Regions from separate parts of the Homo sapiens genome. Here regions 1, 2, 3, 4 and 6 are each linked to region 5. The links are contacts of gene promoters, found by promoter capture Hi-C in human tissues and cell types (Jung and others, 2019). All regions are on one chromosome and are shown on one strand. The core of a region is centred on a gene start or on the middle of the fragment in contact, and the rest is flanking DNA. Distances in the headings are between cores, read along the strand shown. Region 1 overlaps LINC00598 (long intergenic non-protein coding RNA 598). Region 2 overlaps KBTBD6-DT (KBTBD6 divergent transcript). Region 3 has its middle 12 kb from the start of MIR3168. Region 4 has its middle 14 kb from the start of TRE-TTC1-2. Region 5 holds the start of SLC25A15 (solute carrier family 25 member 15). Region 6 has its middle 11 kb from the start of LINC00598.

Region 1 (3,138 bases), core at 396-2,895, 380 kb before region 5:
TTTTGTTTGTTTGTTTGTTTTTTGACATGGAGTCTCACTCTGTACCCCAAGCTGGAGTGCAGAGGCATGACCTTGGCTCACTGCAACTTCTGCCTCCCGGGTTCAAGCAATTCTCCTGACTCAGCCTCCTGAATAGCTGGGATTACAGGCATGTGCCACCATGCCCGGCTAATCTTTGTATTTTTAATAGAGACAGGGTTTCACCACCTTGGACAGGCTGGTCTCAAACTCTTGACCTCAGGTGATCCACCTGCCTCGGCCTCCCAAAGTGCTGGGATTACAAGCGTGAGCCACTACGCCCGGCCAAGTTTTTGTTTTTAATGACCAAAAACTTTAGCATGAGAAATATTAATAATAAAAATAAATGCTTGGCTTTCATTCAATTTAGTCATAAATATAAGGCATTTTTATATTCATTATTCTTTGCTGCAATCCTAATTTTTTTCTTCAATTGCAGCCTGGCCTTTTTTTTTGTATGTTACCTTAAATTTAGGAAATTTTCAAATGTATACAATAGTAGCTACTTTTATTTCAATTTTACCCCCCAGCACTAATTATTTTGAAGCAAACCTTAGAAATCATTTTATATTTTTAAATATGGAAATCCAAATTACCACTAACATACTTAAAAAATAACATTAACTACTCAATACAATTAAACATGAGTTGGTATTCACATGTCCATATCTTTCTTTCTTAACTTTTTATTATGCAGAATTTTGAACCTACACCAGAGTAGATAAAATAGCACAATAATCTCTTATATGTACATCATTTGACCCCAACAATCATCAACCCTTAGTCTTTCTGGCCTCATCCCCATCCCTCTACACTTCTGAAGCAAATCCCAGACTTTATGTCCTTTCTGTAAATATTTTAAATGTATCCGTGAAAGATAAAGACTCTGACATAACTACAGTACCAGTATCACAGGCAACGCAGTAATAATTCCTTATACAATGTTTAAATTTTCTTAACTCATAAATGTCAAAAATATTTTCACAGTTTAAAAAAATGAGGATACTTTTTAAAAATGGAATTTAAAGATCTGTACATTGCAATTGATTGACGTCCTTTAGGTTTTCTTTGATATTAATTGTTCCTTTACCACTTCTTACTTTTTTCCTTGCTATACATTTTGAAGAAACTGTGTTGTTTGCCCTATAAAGGTCCCCACAGTCTGGATTCTGGCGATTGTAGCCCCGTGGTATAGTTTAGCGTGTTTCTCTGTCATCCGTATTTCCTGTACATTGGTAGTTAGAGCTAGAGGCTTAATCATATTCAGGTATTTTTGTCAAGCCTATGTCATACAGGATTTCTATTTTTCCACTGGGGGATGCACAACATTTCGTTACCACTAGCTTTGTGATATTACTATTCATTCATGTTCAATGACTGGATCCATCACTTCATTAGGGATTACAAAATGGTAATATTCCTCACTTCAATTATTAGTTGGAATCCTTCTATAATGAGAAACTTTCTTCATCTTCTACTTAGCTATCTGATGGTACAGTTCATATTAGAAAGGCAGAGTAGATGCTTGATTCTTTCTCCTCAATTAGTTTCAAGTAATAAGCTGGTTCCTTGGCATCCTCCTGTGGCGATCAATTCATTTTTCTTTTAAGAGTAATATTATGAACTCATAAATTTAAACATATTTGAACCATTTATATTCACTGAAGTAATTCTTTTTCATGCTCAGATTTCCCCATCTTTAGCCAAGTTAGCTCTGAGTTTTTCTAATATGACCCTAGTAGTCTTTGATGCCTTCCTTGCTATCTAATAGGACAAGATTTTCTATATGCACACTGTAAATCATGCCTGAAATTGGCCACATTTCCTAGGAGCACTGGTTCCTTTTAGTGGGAAGTGATACTAGAGCCAACAGTCTATTATTAGGGCTGTTCATTGGTACTTCATTGTCCTAAAATTATCTTTATAATCTTTTATGTAGTTTACTGTTTGAATTGGGATACAACTAAGTTCCATACATTACTATTGGTTATTGTATCACTAAGATTGTTTTAAACTACAGGTTCCCTCATGCATTTTTGCCATGTGGCGGTGGTGTTGAAGAAGAAGAAAAAGAAGGAGGAGGAGAAAGAGGAAGAACTTTCCAGTTTCCCGTATCTGGATTTTGCTAACCTCGTCCCATGGTCTTTTACCACGTTCCTCTGTTTCTTGTTTTCCTGTATATTCATTGTTGGATCTAGAGGCTTGATTAATCCAAGGCTTTACTGATTTTATTTTCTCTCCTAGCTTTCAATTTGTTCCAATTTTATATAAGTGAAATATATTTGATTTACTTACCCAAATGCATCAAAAAATCTCAGAGAGAGAAATGCTACTCAAAAGCACCCCAAATATTATTCATCTCTATACATTGCAGTATAAATGACCTACCTTTAATTCCCACAAAAATAAAAATAAGGCCAGGAGATAAACAAGACTGAAAAAGACACAGCATCATATGCAAAAGATTCCTCTTGTCTTCCAATGTGCCACTTTTCTTTGCTTCTCTCTAAATTACTACAAGAACAGGACTCCTACCTTACAGCAGGTCCTATGTGGCCTATCCCACTCCGTCACCCTCAGTATCTTCTAATTCAGATCAATATAAACATTCATTTTTAAGAGAAAGAATTTGAGCATCCAGGCCTGTGCCTTCTATGGTTATTCTTTGCCAGACTATAAGTAAACTTGGTTATCCAAAGCTCAAGAAAAATAACCAAACTTTTCTCTTTGCAAAAACATTTTGTTATCAGTCTTCCAGAAGCTTCTAGATATTAATCTGAGGCTGGAGGGCTGGGGAAGGGGGAGAGGAGATAAAGAAACTCTCAGTTAACCAATCCATTGGTCATGAGTATGAACCAAGATCATGGTCCTGTATCAACAGCCTTAGTGTAATTGGATTCATAGAGAATATAATGAGGAAAATGTGCTATATACAAATGATTTTGCAGAATAAATAGCACTATGAGCAGAGATTAAATTTGAAGGGGGCTGAAATCATGCAGCAGCTTAATCTCAGCTCAGAATTTCCTCAGATACAGAAGTCTACCACTTGAACAGTGCACATTTCAACAATGAGCTGATTGAGTGCCACACGAAAGGAAAGAACTGAGTGAAGTGGGC
Region 2 (3,120 bases), core at 289-2,788, 410 kb after region 5:
AGCCAGATACACAAGAGTAGACACTGTATGACCATTTGTGTGAAGTTCCAGAACACTGAAAATAAGCTTTGATGAATAAAAATCATAATAGAGGCTTCCTCTCTTGTGTAAGGGGTAGTGGGGAGGTGGCAAATTGCTAGACTGACTAGAAAGGAACATGAGGAAATGTCTAGGGCTGATGCAAATGTTTTCTTCTAGACCGGGCTGGTGGTTACATGGGTGAATGCAATTGCTAAACTCAATAAACTGTACTCTTCACATCTGTGCATTTTGCGTACTGTAATTATCCTCTCAGGAACAGCCACTTCATAATTGTTGGCTTTAAATAAAATTGCAGAATTCTTTACCAGGAAGTCATTATGAAGATAGTTCAGTCATAAAGCAAGGTTCTTCTCCTCTAGAGGTGTTTGGGTCAACATTGGTCCAATTCATACAAATTATATCAACAGATGTGGTCTTCCATACCCCTGGAACTTGAGTGCCTCTGGGTAATCTTCAAGGATTTCAGCATGCTGGAGTCTTTCAGATTTGTAAAGTATCTGAGTGCCTAACATTATATTCAAATATTTTCCATTTTTGCCACAACCATATTAAAAACATACTCCTTATTATCTGTGGTCCCTCAAGTTTTCTTGTAATTTACATAATTCTCTACAATAGAATCCACATTTTTCCTGGCACGAAGATAAAGCTGTTTTTGTTTGGTCATTATGTCTCACTCATCAACAAAACATGGTTTTAATTCTTCAGAAATCTTTAACTTCAACTCTCTTCATGAATGTTTTCAACAGCGGCATCTACTGGGGCTCTTCTGAGGAGGCTGAGGTATCTCATTGGTACTGCTCCATTTCCATTTCCACATGATTTCAACATTTTTCCCTTGCAGACCAGATGTCTTCTTTGCTGGGGCAGCCTCTCTCCTCTTCCCCCATGAATTTTGTTCCTGATTTGCTTCTCGAAGTTCTCCCGGTTTCTACAGATTGGTGTTCATGTACCTGAGTACTCTACTTTTTGGAGCCCATTCATTCCAATTTTCATCCAATCCACCGTAATGTGTAAAGTATTTCACTTGTTTGTCCTCGATGGCAACTTTTACATAATTTGCTTCATAAAGAGGCCCATAAAAGCACAGCACCTACTCACTTCAGAGTTTAGGCTTCAGTACCATTTGTAAGTGATAACCCCGACTCCCTTCTCCTACCTCACCCAGCTACTGCTCCCTATGCTGTATCCCATCCAATTCAGCGTCAGGTAGGCTGTCAGGCACTGCCAGCTGTACAGCCTGGGCCCCTCAGTATTGTTTTTACTTTGATTTTTAAGTAGAGTCTACAAACTGTTAACGCCTTTATTTCTGTATTCAAAATGATTTCTGCTATGGATTGTCCCCTCCAAAACTGATGTTGAAACATAATCCCCAATGTGGCAGTATTGAGAGGTGGGTCCTTTAGTGGGTGATTGAATCACAGGGCTCTGCCCTCATGAATAGATTAATCCACCCATGGATTAATGGGTTATCAGGTTAATGGATTAATGGAATAATGGGTTAATGGATTAATGAGTTATCAGGGGAAAGGAACTGGTGGCTTTATAAGAGGAGAGACCTGAGCTAGCAGGCTCAACTCTCCCTCTCATGTGATACCTTGTACTGCCTCGGGACTTTGCAAATTACCCACTAGCAAGAAGGCCCTCACCAAACATGACCCCTTGACCTTGATTTCTCAGCTTACAGAACGGTAAGAAATAAATTCCTTTTCTTGTTGTTGTTGTTTTGAGACAGCCTTGCTCTGTCGCCCAGGCTGGAGTGTAGTGGTGTGATCTTGGCTCACTGCAACCTCCACCTTGAGGGTTCAAGTGATTGTCCTGTCTCAGCCTCCTGAGTAGCTGGGATTACAGGGGTGCACCACCACACCCGGCTAATTTTTTGTATTTTTAGTAGAGATGTGGCAATATTGACCAGGCTGGTCTCGAACTCCTGGCCTCAAGTGATCTGCCCGTCTCGGCCTCCCAAAGTACTGGGATTACAGGCGTGAGCCACCGCGCCTGGCCAAATTCCTTTTCTTTATAAGTTACCCAGTTACAGGTATTCTGGTATGTGCAACACAAAATGGACTAATACAACTCCACTGCCTTTAGTCATTGGCTGCCAGGAGAGTTTTTATGGGTCCACCCTCCCCTACCTCAGTTGGAGGGTACCTAGTGAGGGGGCTGCCTTGGGGCGTGACTTCCGTTCCACATTTATTTCATAGCAGCTAACTTGTTTCAGACCTGTTATACACCATTTTTGTTTGTTTGTTTGTTTTTTTGAGACAGAGTCTCGCTCTGTCACCCAGGCTGTAGTGCAGTGCAAGCTCCGCCTCCCGGGTTCACGCCATTCTCCTGCCTCAGCCTCCCAAGTAGCTGGGACCACAGGTGCCTGTCGCCACGCCCAGCTAGTTTTTTCTCTTTTTTTTTTGTATTTTTAGTAGAGACAGCGTTTCACCGTGTTAGCCAGGATGGTCTCCATCTCCTGACCTCGTGATCTGCCCACCTCAGCCTCCCAAAGTGCTGGGATTATGGGAGTAAGCCACTGCACCCAGCCTATCTTTTTTTTTTCTTTTTTAAGAGATAGGGTCTTATTATGTTCCCCAGGCTGGTCTCAAATTCCTGAACTCAAGTGATTATCCCACCTCAGCCTCTTAACTTTTAATTTTATTATTTAAAAACTTGTATTGAAGTATAGCATACACTATCTGGACATGGTGGCACAGGCCTCTAGTCTCAGCTACTCAGGAGGCTGAGGTGGGAGGATTGCTTGAGCCTGAGAGATGGAGGTTGCAGTGAGTTGGGATCATGCCACTGCACTTCAGCCTGGGCAACAAAGCAAGACCCTGTCTCAGGAAAAAAAAAAAAAAGGTGAAGTATAGCATACATACATATACAGAAAATGGGACAAATAAAAATTGTAAATGCAATGAATTATCACAAAATAAATACACCTGTGTAACCTCCACTCAGGTCAGAAATAGAACATTATCAGCATCCCAGAGGCTCCACTTCCCCAACTCCAGCCCAAGTGCCCCTAATTGCCATTGTGCATCACAAAATGAGTCACACTTTAAAAAATAATTTCTTTTATTTTTT
Region 3 (2,939 bases), core at 53-2,552, 300 kb after region 5:
TAATACATAAATATATATAATATATATTTATATATTATATATAATTTATATTATATATATATATTGATAATATTAAAATTAAAAATTTAAAATTAATGTTAATATTAAATTGATAGATATATTGATATTAAATCTATATTAAATATATTTTTATATTTTTACACATACATATATATTTATATGCATGTATGTGTATGCATATATATAGTTAATTTGATGTATATTTTACCACCAAAAAAAAAAGCATTCAATTTCACGTTGTATCATAAACATCACTTCTGCCTTACAAAATCGTAAAAGAGTTTGTAGAAACTTATTTCTGCCAACCTCCTGTATTTATTCAATATTTTTTGTTTTTGAGACAGGATCTTACTCTCACCCAGGCCAGAGTATAGAGGCGTGATCAGAGCTCCCTGCAACCTCGACCTGCTGAGCTCAAGTGATTTTCCTCCCTCCACCTCCTAAGTAACTGGGACTACAGGCAAACAGGCATGCCACCACACCTGGCTGGTTCTTCTTCTTTTTTTTTTTTGTCTGTAGAGACGAGTGTCTCATTATGTTGCCCAGGCTGGTCTCGAACTTCTGAGCTAAAGCGATCCTCCTGCCTCAGCCTCCAAAAATGCTGGGATTATATGCATGAGCCACTGCGCCCAGCCTGGTACTCTTTTTTTTTTAATGGTAAACTCACTAGCCTAGTTTAAGCCATCTTCACTTCAAGCCTAGAATACTACTGCACTCCCAATTTTTGCTATTCTAGCTCATCCTTCACAGAACCAACAGAATAATCTTCCATGGTAAACCTCCGCAAATTTCCCTTCTCCACTAATCTCAATATATCAAATCTATTAGCATTTAAGACTTGCATCTCATTTTTCAAAACAGGCTACTTATCTGTCTTTTAATTGGTTATTTCTACATTGAAAACATTACATTCTTTTTTGTTTGTTTGTTTGTTTGTTTGTTTTTTGAGAGAAAGTCTCACTCTTCCCCAGGCTGGAGTGCAGTGGCATGATCTCAGCTCACTGCAACCTCAGCCTCCCGGGTTCAAGCAATTCTCCTGCCCCAGCCTCCCAAGCAGCTGGGACTACAGGCACGCACCATCATGCTTGGCTAATTTTTGTATTTTTAGTGGAGACAGGGTTTCACCATGTTGGCTAGGCTGTTCTCAAACTCCTGACCTCTGAAAACATTACATTCTAATTATAGCAAACTTTAGAAAATATCTTTTTAAAAGAAGGATGATGAAAATTTTTTTTAAAAGAAGGGTGACATAAATGGGAATCATATATCCCCATTAACTGGTAAAATTCATCAGGGGAGCATATGGTCTGGTGCTTTTTTTTTTTTTTTGGAAGATTACTAATTATTGATTCAATTTCATTAATAGATATAGACCTATTCAGAGGATCTATTTCGCATATAAGTTTTGGTAATTGGTGCCTCAAAGAATTGGTCCATTTCATCTAAGTTATCAAGTTTGTGTGCATAGAGTTGTTTATAATACTCCTTTATTGTCCTTTTAATGTCCATGGGTAGTACTGACGACCTCTCTTTTATTGCTAACAAAATATTAGTAATTTGTTTCTTTTTTATGGTTAGCTTGCATGAGGTTTATCAGTTTGATTGAATTTTACAAAGAACAAGCTTTGGTTTTGTAGACATGCTCTTGATTTCCTATTTTTAATTTCATTGATTTCTGCTCTAATTTTTTCTATTCTTCTGCTTGTTTTAGGTTTCTATTGTTTCTCTAGTTCCTAAGTTAGAAGTTTAAATGATTGATTTTACGTCTTTCCTTTTTTTCTAGCACATTCATTCAATGCTTTAAATTTCCCTTTAAGGACTGCTTTCACTGCATCCCACGAGTCTTAAGTTGTATTTTCATTTTTGTTTGATCCAGAACATTTTAAAATTTCTTGAGACTTCTTTTTTTACCTACGCGTTATTTAGAAGTTCCCAAATATTTGGGAATTTTCAGCTTTCTGTTAGGATTTCTAATGTAATTCCATTGTGATCTGAAAGCATGCTTTATATGATTTCTATTCTTTGAAATTTGTTAAGGTGTGTTTCATAGCCCAGAATGTGGCATATTTTGATAAATGTCCAACGTGAATCTGAGAAGAATGTGTATTCTGCTGTTGTTAGATGAAGTACTTTAAAGTATCAATTAGATCCAGTTAACTGATGGTGCTATTCAGTTTAACTATGTTCTTATGACTTTCTGCCTGTTGGATCTGTCAATTACTGATTAGAGAGTATTGAAGTGTATTTTATATGAGTCCATTTGCTCTCCTCTCTTAGCATATCAATTGTGCCTCATTTTAAAATTTCTTTTTTTTTTTTTTTTGAGACGGAGTCTTGCTCGTTGCCCAGGCTGGAGTGCAGTGGCGCAGTCTTGGCTCACTGCAAGCTCCACCTCCCAGGTTCACGCCATTCTCCTGCCTCAGCCTCCCGAGTAGCTGGGACTACAGGCGCCTGCCACCACGCCCGGCTAACTTTTTGTATTTTTAGTAGAGATGGGTTTTCACCGTGTTAGCCAGGATGGTCTCGATCTCCTGACCTCGTGATCCGCCCGCCTCGGCCTCCCAAAGTGCTGGGATTACAGGCGTGAGCCACGGTGCCCGGCCTTTTTTTTTTCTTTGAGAGAAGTGTCACTCTTGTCCCCCAGGTTTGAGTGCCATGGCTTTATCTTGGCTCACTGCAACCTCCGCCTCCTGGGTTCAAATGATTCTCCTGCCTCTGCCTCTCAAGTAGCTGGGATTAAGGCACCTGCCACCACACCCAGCTAATTTTTGTATTTTTTAGTAGAGACGGTTTCACCATGTTGGCCAGGCTGGTCTCGAACTCCTGACCTCAGATGATCCACCCGCCTTGGCCTCCCAAAGTGCTGGGATTACAGGTGTGAGCTACCACGCCCGGTCTTAAAATTTCTTTAGTGGTTA
Region 4 (3,062 bases), core at 168-2,667, 260 kb after region 5:
ATTTGGGGTGGAGAGTTCTGTAGATGTCTATTAGGTCCACTTGGTGCAGAGCTGAGTTCAATTCCTGGATATCCTTCCTTATTAACTTTCTGACTCATTGATCTGTCTAATGTTGACAGTGGGGTGCTAAAGTCTCCCATTATTATTGTGTGGGAGTCTAAGTCTCTCTATAGGTCTCTAAGGACTTGCTTCATGAATCTGGGGGCTCCTGTATTGGGTGCATATATATTTAGGATAGTTAGCTCTTCTTGTTGAATTGATCCCTTTACCATTATGTAATGGCCTTCTTTGTCTCTTTTGATCTTTGCTGGTTTAAAGTCTGTTCTATCAGAGACTAGGATTACAACCCCTACCTTTTTTTGTTTTCCATTTGCTTAGTAGATCTTCCTCCATCCCTTTATTTTGAGCCTATGTGTGTCTCTGCACATGAGATGGGTCTCCTGAATACAGCACACTGATGGGTCTTGACTCTTTACCCAATTTGCCAATCTGTGTCTTTTAATTGGAGCATTTAGCCCATTTACATTTAAGGTTAATATTGTTATGTGTGAATTTGATCCTGTCATTACTATGTTAGTTGGTTATTTTGCTTGTTAGTTGATGCAGTTTCTTCCTAGCATCAATGGTCTCTACAATTTGGCATGTTTTTGCAGTGGCTGGTACCAGTTGTTCCTTTCCATGTTTAGTGCTTCCTTCAGGAGCTCTTGCAGCGCAGGCCTGGTGGTGACAAAATCTCTCAGCATTTGCTTGTCTGTAAAGGATTTTATTTCTCCTTCACTTATGAAGCTTAGTTTGGCTGGATATGAAATTCTGGGTTGAAAACTCTTTTCTTTAATAATGTTGAATATCGGCCCCCACTCTCTTCTGGCTTGTAGAGTTTCTGCTGAGAGATCTGCTGTTAGTCTGATGGGCTTCCCTCTGTGGGTAACCCGACCTTTTTCTCTGGCTGCCCTTAACAGTTTTTCCTTCATTTCAACTTTGGTGAATCTGACGATTATGTGTCTTAGAGTTGCTCTTCTCAAGGAGTATCTTTGTGGTGTTCTCTGTATTTCCCAAATTTGAATGTTGGCCTGCCTTGCCAGATTGGGGGAGTTCTCCTGGATTATATCCTGAAGAGTGTTTTCCAACTTGGTTCCATTCTCCCCGTCACTTTCAGGTACACCAATGAGACGCAGATTTGGTCTTTTCACATAGTCCCACATTTCTTGGAGGCTTTGTTCGTTTCTTTTTACTTTTTTCTCTAAACTTCTCTTCTCGCTTCATTTATTTGATCTTCAATCACTGATACCCTTTCTTCCAGTTGATCAAATCGGCTACTGAAGCTTGTGCATTCGTCACGTAGTTCTCCTGCCATGGTTTTCAGCTCCATCAGGTCGTTTAAGGACTTCTCTACACTGGTTATTCTAGGTAGCCATTTGTCTAATCTTTTTTCAAGGTTTTTAGCTTCTTTGCCATGGGTTCAAACTTCCTGCTTTAGCTCAGAGAAGTTTGATCGTCTGAAGCCTTCTTCTCTCAACTCGTCAAAGTCATTCTCCGTCCAGCTTTGTTCCGTTGCTGGCGAGGAGCTGCATTCCTTTGGAGGGGGAGAAGTGCTCTGATTTTTAGAATTCTTGGTTTTTCTGCTCTGTTTTTTCCCCATCTTTGTGGTTTTATCTACCTTTGGTCTTTGATGATGGTGACGTACAGATGGGCTTTTGGTGTGGATGTCCTTTCTGTTTGTTAGTTTTCCTTCTAAGGGTCAGGACCCTCAGGCTGCAGGTCTGTTGGAGTTTGCTGGAGGTCCATTCCAGACCCTGTGTGCCCGGGTATCAGCAGCAGAGGCTGCAGAACAGAGAATATTGCTGAACAGCAAATGTTGCTGCCTGATCATTCCTCTGGAAGCTTCATCTCAGAGGGGTACCTGGCCGTGTGAGGTGTCAGTCTGCCCCTACTAGGGGTGCCTCCCAGTTAGGCTACTTGGGGGTCAGGGACCCACTTGAGGAGGCAGTCTGACTGTTCTCAGATCTCAAACTCTGTGCTGGGAAAACCACTACTCTCTTCAAAGCTGTCAGACAGGGACATTTAAGTCTGCAGAGGTTTCTGCTGCCTTTTGTTTGGCTATGCCCTGCCCCCAGAGGTGGAGTCTACAGAGGCAGGCAGGCCTCCTTGAGCTGCAATGGGCTCCACCCAGTTCGAGCTTCAGGCCACTTTGTTTACCTACTCAAGCCTCAGCAATGGCGGGTGCCCCTTCCCCAGCCTCACTGCCACCTTGCAGTTCGATCTCAGACTGCTGTGTTAGCAATGAGCGAGGGTCTGTGGGCATGAGGCCCTCCAAGCCAGGTACAGGATATAATCTCCTGGTGTGCCATTTGCTAAGACCGTTGGAAAAGCACAGTATTAGGGTGGGAGTGACCCGATTTTCTAGGTGCCTTCTGTCACAGCTTCTCTTGGCTAGGAAAGGGAATTCCCTGACCCCTTGCGCTTCCAGGTGAGGCGATGCCTCGCCCTGCTTCGGCTCACGCTCGGTGGCCTGCACCCACTGTCTTGCACACACTGTCCGACAAGCCCCAGTGAGATGAACCCGGTACCTCAGTTGGAAATGCAGAAATCACCCGTCTTCTGCGTCACTCACGCTGAGAGCTGTAGACTGGAGCTGTTCTTATTTGGCCATCTTGGAACTGCCTACAGTCTTTTCTTTGAGACAAGGTCTCCATCTGTCACTCAGGCTGGAGTGCAGTGGTACAAACACAGCTTACTGCAGCCTTGACCTCCAGGGCTCGAGTGATCTCACCTCAGCCTCCCGAGTAGCTGGGATTATGGGCACACCACCAAGCCCAGCTAATTTTTTAATATTTTATAGTGACAGGATACCAGTATGTTACCCCAGCTAGTCTAAAATTCTAGGCTCAAGCAATCCGCCCACCTCAGCCTGCTAAAGTGCTGGGATTACAGTTGTGAGCTACTACGCCTAGCCGAAGGTATTTTTTTAATTCAAGTTTTTCCTTTAAAAAAAAAAAAAGAACCTGAATTGGCACCCTGTCACACACCGCAACCCCAACTACAACTACTATTCATTCTCACTC
Region 5 (3,186 bases), core at 80-2,579:
GAAACCCTGTCTCTACTAAAAAATACAAAATTAGCTGGGTGTGGTGGCGCATGCCTGTAATCCCAGCTACTTGGGAAGCTAAGGCAGGAGAATCGCTTGAACCCAGGAGGGGGAGGTTGCAGTGAGCTGAGATTGCACCATTGCACTCCAGCTCGGGTGACAGAGTGAGACTCTGTCTCAAAAAAAAAAAGAAAAAAAAAGAAAAAAATAATAATCCAACAGCACATCTAAACAAGGCTTAAAGTTGTAAAATAAAATTACACTGTGTGGAGGGTGTGTGTGTGTGTGTGTGTGTGTGTGTGTGGGTGAGAGAGAGAGAGAGAGAGAGATGAGGTCTCTGTCATCCAGGCTGGAGTGCAACAGTGCCATCATAGCTCACTGCGGCCTCCAATTCCTGGCCTCAAGCGATCCTCCCGCCTTGGCCTCCCAAATAGCTAAGAATAGAGGCATGTGTCACCACACCTTTTTTTTTTTGTCGTTGTTTGTTTGTTTTTATGAAACGGAGTCTCGCTGTGTAGCCCAGGCTGGAGTGTAGTGATGCAATCTTGGCTCACTGCAACCTTCACCTCCCAGATTCAAGCGATTCTCCTGCCTCAGCCTCCCTAGTAGCTGGGGTTACAGACACGCACCACCACGCTGGATAAATTTTTGTAATTTTAGTACACGGGGTTTCACCATGTTGGCCAGGCTGGTCTTGGACTCCTGACCTCAGGTGATCCGCCTACCTCGGCCTCCCACAGTGCTGGGATTACAGGCGTGAGCCACCATGCCCGGCTAATTCCTGTATTTTCATACTTAGTTGTATTTCCTATTAGGGCCTTGGATCCCGAGTATAATTTTGTACTCAAATATAATTTATAAATAAGGCCTTAGCCTCCCAACAAGGTCAAAGTAGCTAAAAAGTAAGTCCTCCCAACCACTGACATTACCAGCCCCCAGCCCCCAGTCCCAGCCCAGCGGGCTAACAAGGGTCCGGCCTCAGAGAGGGTCTCGGGGATCCCAGAGGTGGGAAAGTCTCCGGAGGCGCAGGCCCCGCTCTCCACCTTCACCAGGGTCGGCGGCAGCACCACGCCGGGTCGCGGGCTGGCTGTGCGCGCCGCGGCCCCACGCCCACTTCCGCTTCCCGTGCTGGGGGCGGTGGCAGGGCCGGTGGGCGGTGGCGGCTCCCGGTCTCGGCTCGGGCACGGCCCTGGGCAGGCCGCCCGCCAGCCGCAGGGGCGCTCCTGAGCTTCGCGGGGCCGCAGTCCGGGATGCCTGCGCGAAGGGAGGGGCGAAGGGCCGGCCGTTGCCGACGTGGGTGTTAAGTGGCCGCCCCAGCCGGCGACCCGGAGCCGAGAGCGGGCGGCGGAGCCTGAGCTGGACGCGGCCACGCCGGCGCGGCGGTGAGCGCAGCCCGGTCTGGCGCCTGCAGCTGCGGGGAGCGCGCCAGGCAGAGGGAGCGGGGAGCGGGGCGCGGGGCGGGCCTCGGTGTGCGGGCGGCGTGACCTTCCCGAGCGGCGGGGGAAGCGGCCAGCGTCGCAGCGCACGTGCCGCGGGACTCGGAGAATCTCGGGGTTGTCGGCCTCCTTCCTGCAGTGCCCACCTGGTGGGAACTTTTGTCCTTGTTTGCCCCCAAGTCCTGTCATTTGGCTGCGGGGCTCCGCGCCTCAGGGGCGCCAGTGCTGGGCAGCATGGAGCCGCTTGTGAATGGAGACTTGCTGGCTGCCCAGGAGTGGGCGGCTGGGCAGGGGCGGTGAACGTTTAGGGTCCGGCCAAGAAAGTTGGAAGTCGTCTCCCTGACCTGTTCCTTGCGAGGCCCGGGAGGAGACGCGCCTGGCCGGTCCTTGGCGGCGAAACTGATTTGCATCTCCACGCTTTACCTAAAGCCCGGGCTCTGGGGACTGGATGGCGAGCTGGCCTGCGGCTCCTTTAGCCAGAAGCTGGGATCTTCCCGCAGCAGTTCGTGTTCCCTGGTGGAAAATGCAGCCTCATCTACTGACTCTCCCTTCCAAAAAAAAGTTATTTTCCCCAAGGGTCGAGAAAAGTGGGTGGTCGGCACTGTTGTTCCTCAGTTGCACCCTGGTGTAATTTGAGAGAGGGGTCAAAGGCGCTGAAAAGATTCTTTTTTCTATTCCAAGTGCTACAGCAAGCTCATAAATCAATTTTAATTCATGCTGAACAGTCTTGCCTCCTCCAAGCCCTGTGTCTTCTCCAAGCCAGAGCTACACATAATGTGAATTAGCTGCCCACTCCTTCTGAGTGAATCTGTTAGTACCCATCATCGTTTTCTATCCTAATAATTCTAATGGCTATTTGTAGAATTTATTTGTTTGTTTATTTTTTTGAGACGGAGTTTCGCTCTTGTTGCCCAGGCTGGAGTGCAATGGGGCGATCTCGGCTCACCGCAACCTCCGCCTCCTGGGTTCAAGCTATTCTCCTCCCTCAGCCTCCCGAGTAGCTGGGATTACAAGCATGGCCCACCACGCCAGGCTAATTTTGTATTTTTAATAGAGACGGGGGTTTCTCATGTTGGTCAGGCTGGTCTCGAACTCCCGACCTCAGGTGATCCGCCCGCCTTGGCCTCCCAAAGTGCTGGGATTACAGGCGTGAGCCACTGTGCCTGGCCTATTTGTAGAATTTAATGTGTTTAAGTTTGGCTCACCTAACAGGGTTTAATTCTTAGGGACAGATAGAATGTAATGTGATGTGACTTTCCTTCAAAATTAAGAAGGAAGTGTCTGTGCCAAAAGAAATAAGCGCATTGAGGTTTATCTAGGAGGCCACATTGTACTTGCCTCTGTCTGTCTGCTCAGTTGCCCCCGTTTTTTTCTTTCCCAAAAATATAGGGTTGGGTGTTTTGTGTTGCCTTTGGCCAGGTTGAAATACTCAGATTAACGGTTGGTTTGTAGGCACAGGCCTGAAAAGACAGGACTTTGAACTGAATCCTCTGTCACTGACAGTTGTGTGGCCTTGGAGAAGACCTTGTCTTGCTCCAGGCTTTAGTTTGCCTTCTGGGAAAGGATTAGGACCCTGATAAACTTTTTATTTATTTATTTATTTATTTATTTATTTATTTTATTTTTTATTTTCTATTATTATTATTATTTTTTTTTTTGAGACAGAGTCTCACTTTGTTGCCCAGGCTGGAGTCCAGTGGCACAATCTCGGCTCACTGCAACCTCCACCTCCCGGGTTCAAGTGAATCTT
Region 6 (2,848 bases), core at 147-2,646, 300 kb before region 5:
CTTGAAAAATCAAAATGAACTTTTTTCTTCAAAGACTTTGCTTTTATTCATCATCATTATAAAAACAGTCAAGTCCTTGAGGTCTGCAGCTGCAGAGAATGCATACAAAATGGGCTCTCTGAGAAAAAAATATATATATATAATAATGATGCTCTAACACTCTTGTGAGCAAAGGGCCACAGGAGAGCCTGGGTTTGGAGTCCAGCCTTCACCTCCACTGGGCATATTTTGCCCGTTGGGATGTGTATGCCCCCAAAAAGGCACTGTCTTTATGAGGATGTTCATAGCTGGGGAGGCATCTTCCAGAAGGTAGAAGCATCTTTAGGTATGCAAACTGCTACACCCTGGAGGATGGTATCCCCTCTGCTAGCTGTCACCAGTACCCCAAAATGTAACACAGCTTTCATCAGTATATCACAGAGACCGCGTTACAGGGGTTTGGGGGTTGTGAACCTGGTTGATTGGTGGAGTGCTTCAGGTCCACATCGTAAAAATGCTTCTGTGGGCTGGGTTGAGAAGCATGAGGCATAATAACATTTCTTTGCAAAGTGTATTGATTTCCAAGCGGCTGCCTTAGGATCTGGAATGCCGGCCACTCATAAGAGAAGGAACTGCCCTGAATTATGAGACACATGCTCCCTTCATTATTTCAGAGGGGAGGAATGCAGTTATCTTGAATTTCCTTGGATAGGTGGTGTTCCTTTCCTCCTTCTCTCCCTTCTTCCTCCTTCCCCTTCTACAGGCCATTCTGTCAGCTAATAGACCATTGGTGGCTAACAGGGACTTCTCAGAAGAAAGTTAGGGAGAAGCTTTACCAGAAAGTGGGGAGTTGGTGGGAGTTGGGTAGGGGTATGACTGGCTCTGTGGTACTGAAGAACACTTTTCCAGACTCCAAAATATGTTTGCAGGGAGGCAAGAAGGAACAGGAGCAAGATGGGGCCTCCAGACAACCTGGCATAAGTCCTCGACGCCAGGAGCATAAGAAGGAGAAGCAAGGAGAGAGAAGATCTAGAAGCAAGGGAACTTCCAGAGCCCCTTCTGATCAAGAAATTGATACAGCAGCCCCTGGGGGTCACAGACTGTCACTGAGACAGAAGCCTGTGAAAAGGACAGTGCTTAGTCCAGCAGTGGACTAGGCGAGTGGACAATGAGATGACCTAATCATGAGTTTTGGATGGGCTCAAGTGAGAAAAGAAGGTAGAGTAGAAATGATTTGTTTTGTATTCAAGATGAAAAGGCCACCCTCCCTTCTGCAGGGGAATGAATTCTTATATAGCTCGGATGTGTGTCTCCTACAAATCTCCTGTTGAAACATGACCTCCAGTGTTGGGGATGGGCCTGGTGAGAGGTGTTAGGATAGTAGGGGCGGATCCTTCATGAATGGCTTGGCGCCGTCCTCACAGGATTGAGTGAGTTCTCGCTATGAGTTCATGTGAGATCTAGCTGGGTAAAGGAGACTGCCGCCTCCTCCCTCCCTTGCTCTTGCTCTTGCTCTTGCCATGTCATGGGCCTGCTCCCCCTTCACCGTCTGCCATGAGCAGAAGCTTCCTGAGGCCCCCACCAGAAGCAGATGCTGGTACCAGGCTTTATGTACAGCCTGCAGAACCATGAGCCAAATAAATCTGTTTTCTTTATAAATTACCCAGTCTCAGGTATTCCTTTATAGCAACACAAATGGACCAACACAGATTCCCTTCCCTGAGAGCCAAGTGGTGCCACTGGAGAGCCCCTCCCAGATGCTGGTCCCCAGGGAGGGCTGCCGGGTGAGCCTGTGGGGGCAGGTGGCAGTCAGGCACGGACCTCGCAAGGCTGTGGTCCCAGCCACGTTCTTGAACTTCCTGCAGGGTCCCCTCATGGAGCTTCCCTCTGAGCATGGTGAAGGCCAGAACAGAACAAGAGGCAGCAGAAACCCTTGTCTTTCACTCTGATGAGTGTTGCATGGGGCTGATGCTGGAAACTGCTTCACAATCTCAACAGCATGGGTGCCGGCCAACTCCGAGGGATGTGACAATAGGCCAGCCTGTCCCAGGGCACATCGGCTGAATATCACCTCTCCACGGAGTGTCAGCCAAGTTTCCTTCTTTTAAAGAACATTTTGGCTGGACCCAGTGGCTCACGCCTGTAATCCCAACAATTTGGGAGGCCGAGGCAGGCAGATCCCCTAAGATCAGGAGTTTGAGACCAGCCTGGCCAACATGGCAAAACCCCGCTTCTACTAAAAACACAAAAATTAGCCAGGCATGGTGGCAGCGCCTGTAATCCCAGCTACTCCAGAGGCTGAGGCACGAGAATTGCTTGAACCCGGGAGGCGGAGGTTGCAGTGAGCCGAGATCGTGCCGCTGCACTCCAGCCTGGGTGAAAGAGCGAGAGACTCCGTCTCAAAAATAAGTAAATAAATAAAAATAAAGAACATTTTAAGATTAAATGACGAAACACACAAGCGGAAGATGTATGATGCTTGTGCTATATGGCTTTGCATGAGATCATTATCACCATCTTGTGCAGGGCAGCTTCTTGGGTGTGCAACCTCCCTAGGACTTTACATTTAAAAGGACCCCACACTTGGTTTAATGCTCTGCTGTTGCTGTCTTAATAATCATGCTGGAAAAAAGTGTCCCATGTTTTCATTTTGTACTGGAACCGGCAAACTATGTAGCTGGTCCTAGACTGGTGAGGTAAGAAATACAGGTATCACCAACTTCCCCATTTCCAATGAGGAGACTGAAGGATAAGGTGGTAAAATGGATTCCCTAAAGACACCCCGCTAGTAAGCAGCTAACTGCAGCCCCAGGTCTCCCTAGTGCAGTATCTAGTCTGATGCATGAATGTAATGAGCCGTTTCTGAGCA

Evidence for each region. Contacts are between HindIII fragments. The study calls those that stand out against the background at their distance.
Region 1: a fragment that was not itself captured here is called in contact with the fragment with the promoter of SLC25A15 in region 5 in 1 of the 25 tissues and cell types used here (spleen).
Region 2: a contact is called between a fragment that was not itself captured here and the fragment with the promoter of SLC25A15 in region 5, in 1 of the 25 tissues and cell types used here (spleen).
Region 3: a fragment that was not itself captured here is called in contact with the fragment with the promoter of SLC25A15 in region 5 in 1 of the 25 tissues and cell types used here (spleen).
Region 4: a fragment that was not itself captured here is called in contact with the fragment with the promoter of SLC25A15 in region 5 in 1 of the 25 tissues and cell types used here (thymus).
Region 6: a contact is called between a fragment that was not itself captured here and the fragment with the promoter of SLC25A15 in region 5, in 3 of the 25 tissues and cell types used here (liver, mesendoderm cells and spleen).

What each region holds. Positions count from the first base shown.
Region 1 is chr13:40,411,844-40,414,981 of GRCh38, forward strand. The region is part of intron 6 of LINC00598 (long intergenic non-protein coding RNA 598); the gene reads right to left. Among named protein-coding and RNA genes, the nearest start is that of LINC00598, 68 kb to the right of the region's middle. The HindIII fragment of the contact is 4,674 bases long and covers 1-3,138 here.
Region 2 is chr13:41,199,518-41,202,637 of GRCh38, forward strand. The region is part of intron 3 of KBTBD6-DT (KBTBD6 divergent transcript); the gene reads left to right. It also overlaps the pseudogene MORF4L1P4. Among named protein-coding and RNA genes, the nearest start is that of KBTBD7, 6.5 kb to the left of the region's middle. The HindIII fragment of the contact is 5,217 bases long and covers 1-3,120 here.
Region 3 is chr13:41,087,635-41,090,573 of GRCh38, forward strand. No RefSeq gene overlaps it. Among named protein-coding and RNA genes, the nearest start is that of MIR3168, 12 kb to the right of the region's middle. The HindIII fragment of the contact is 7,858 bases long and covers 1-2,939 here.
Region 4 is chr13:41,045,760-41,048,821 of GRCh38, forward strand. It overlaps a transcript of ELF1 not described here. Among named protein-coding and RNA genes, the nearest start is that of TRE-TTC1-2, 14 kb to the right of the region's middle. The HindIII fragment of the contact is 3,143 bases long and covers 1-2,989 here.
Region 5 is chr13:40,788,282-40,791,467 of GRCh38, forward strand. It overlaps SLC25A15 (solute carrier family 25 member 15), which reads left to right and starts at 1,330. Exons shown (of 7, transcript NM_014252.4): 1 at 1,330-1,382. RefSeq lists silencers at 900-1,479, 2,612-2,906. The HindIII fragment of the contact is 20,114 bases long and covers 1-3,186 here.
Region 6 is chr13:40,490,732-40,493,579 of GRCh38, forward strand. No RefSeq gene overlaps it. Among named protein-coding and RNA genes, the nearest start is that of LINC00598, 11 kb to the left of the region's middle. The HindIII fragment of the contact is 5,719 bases long and covers 1-2,848 here.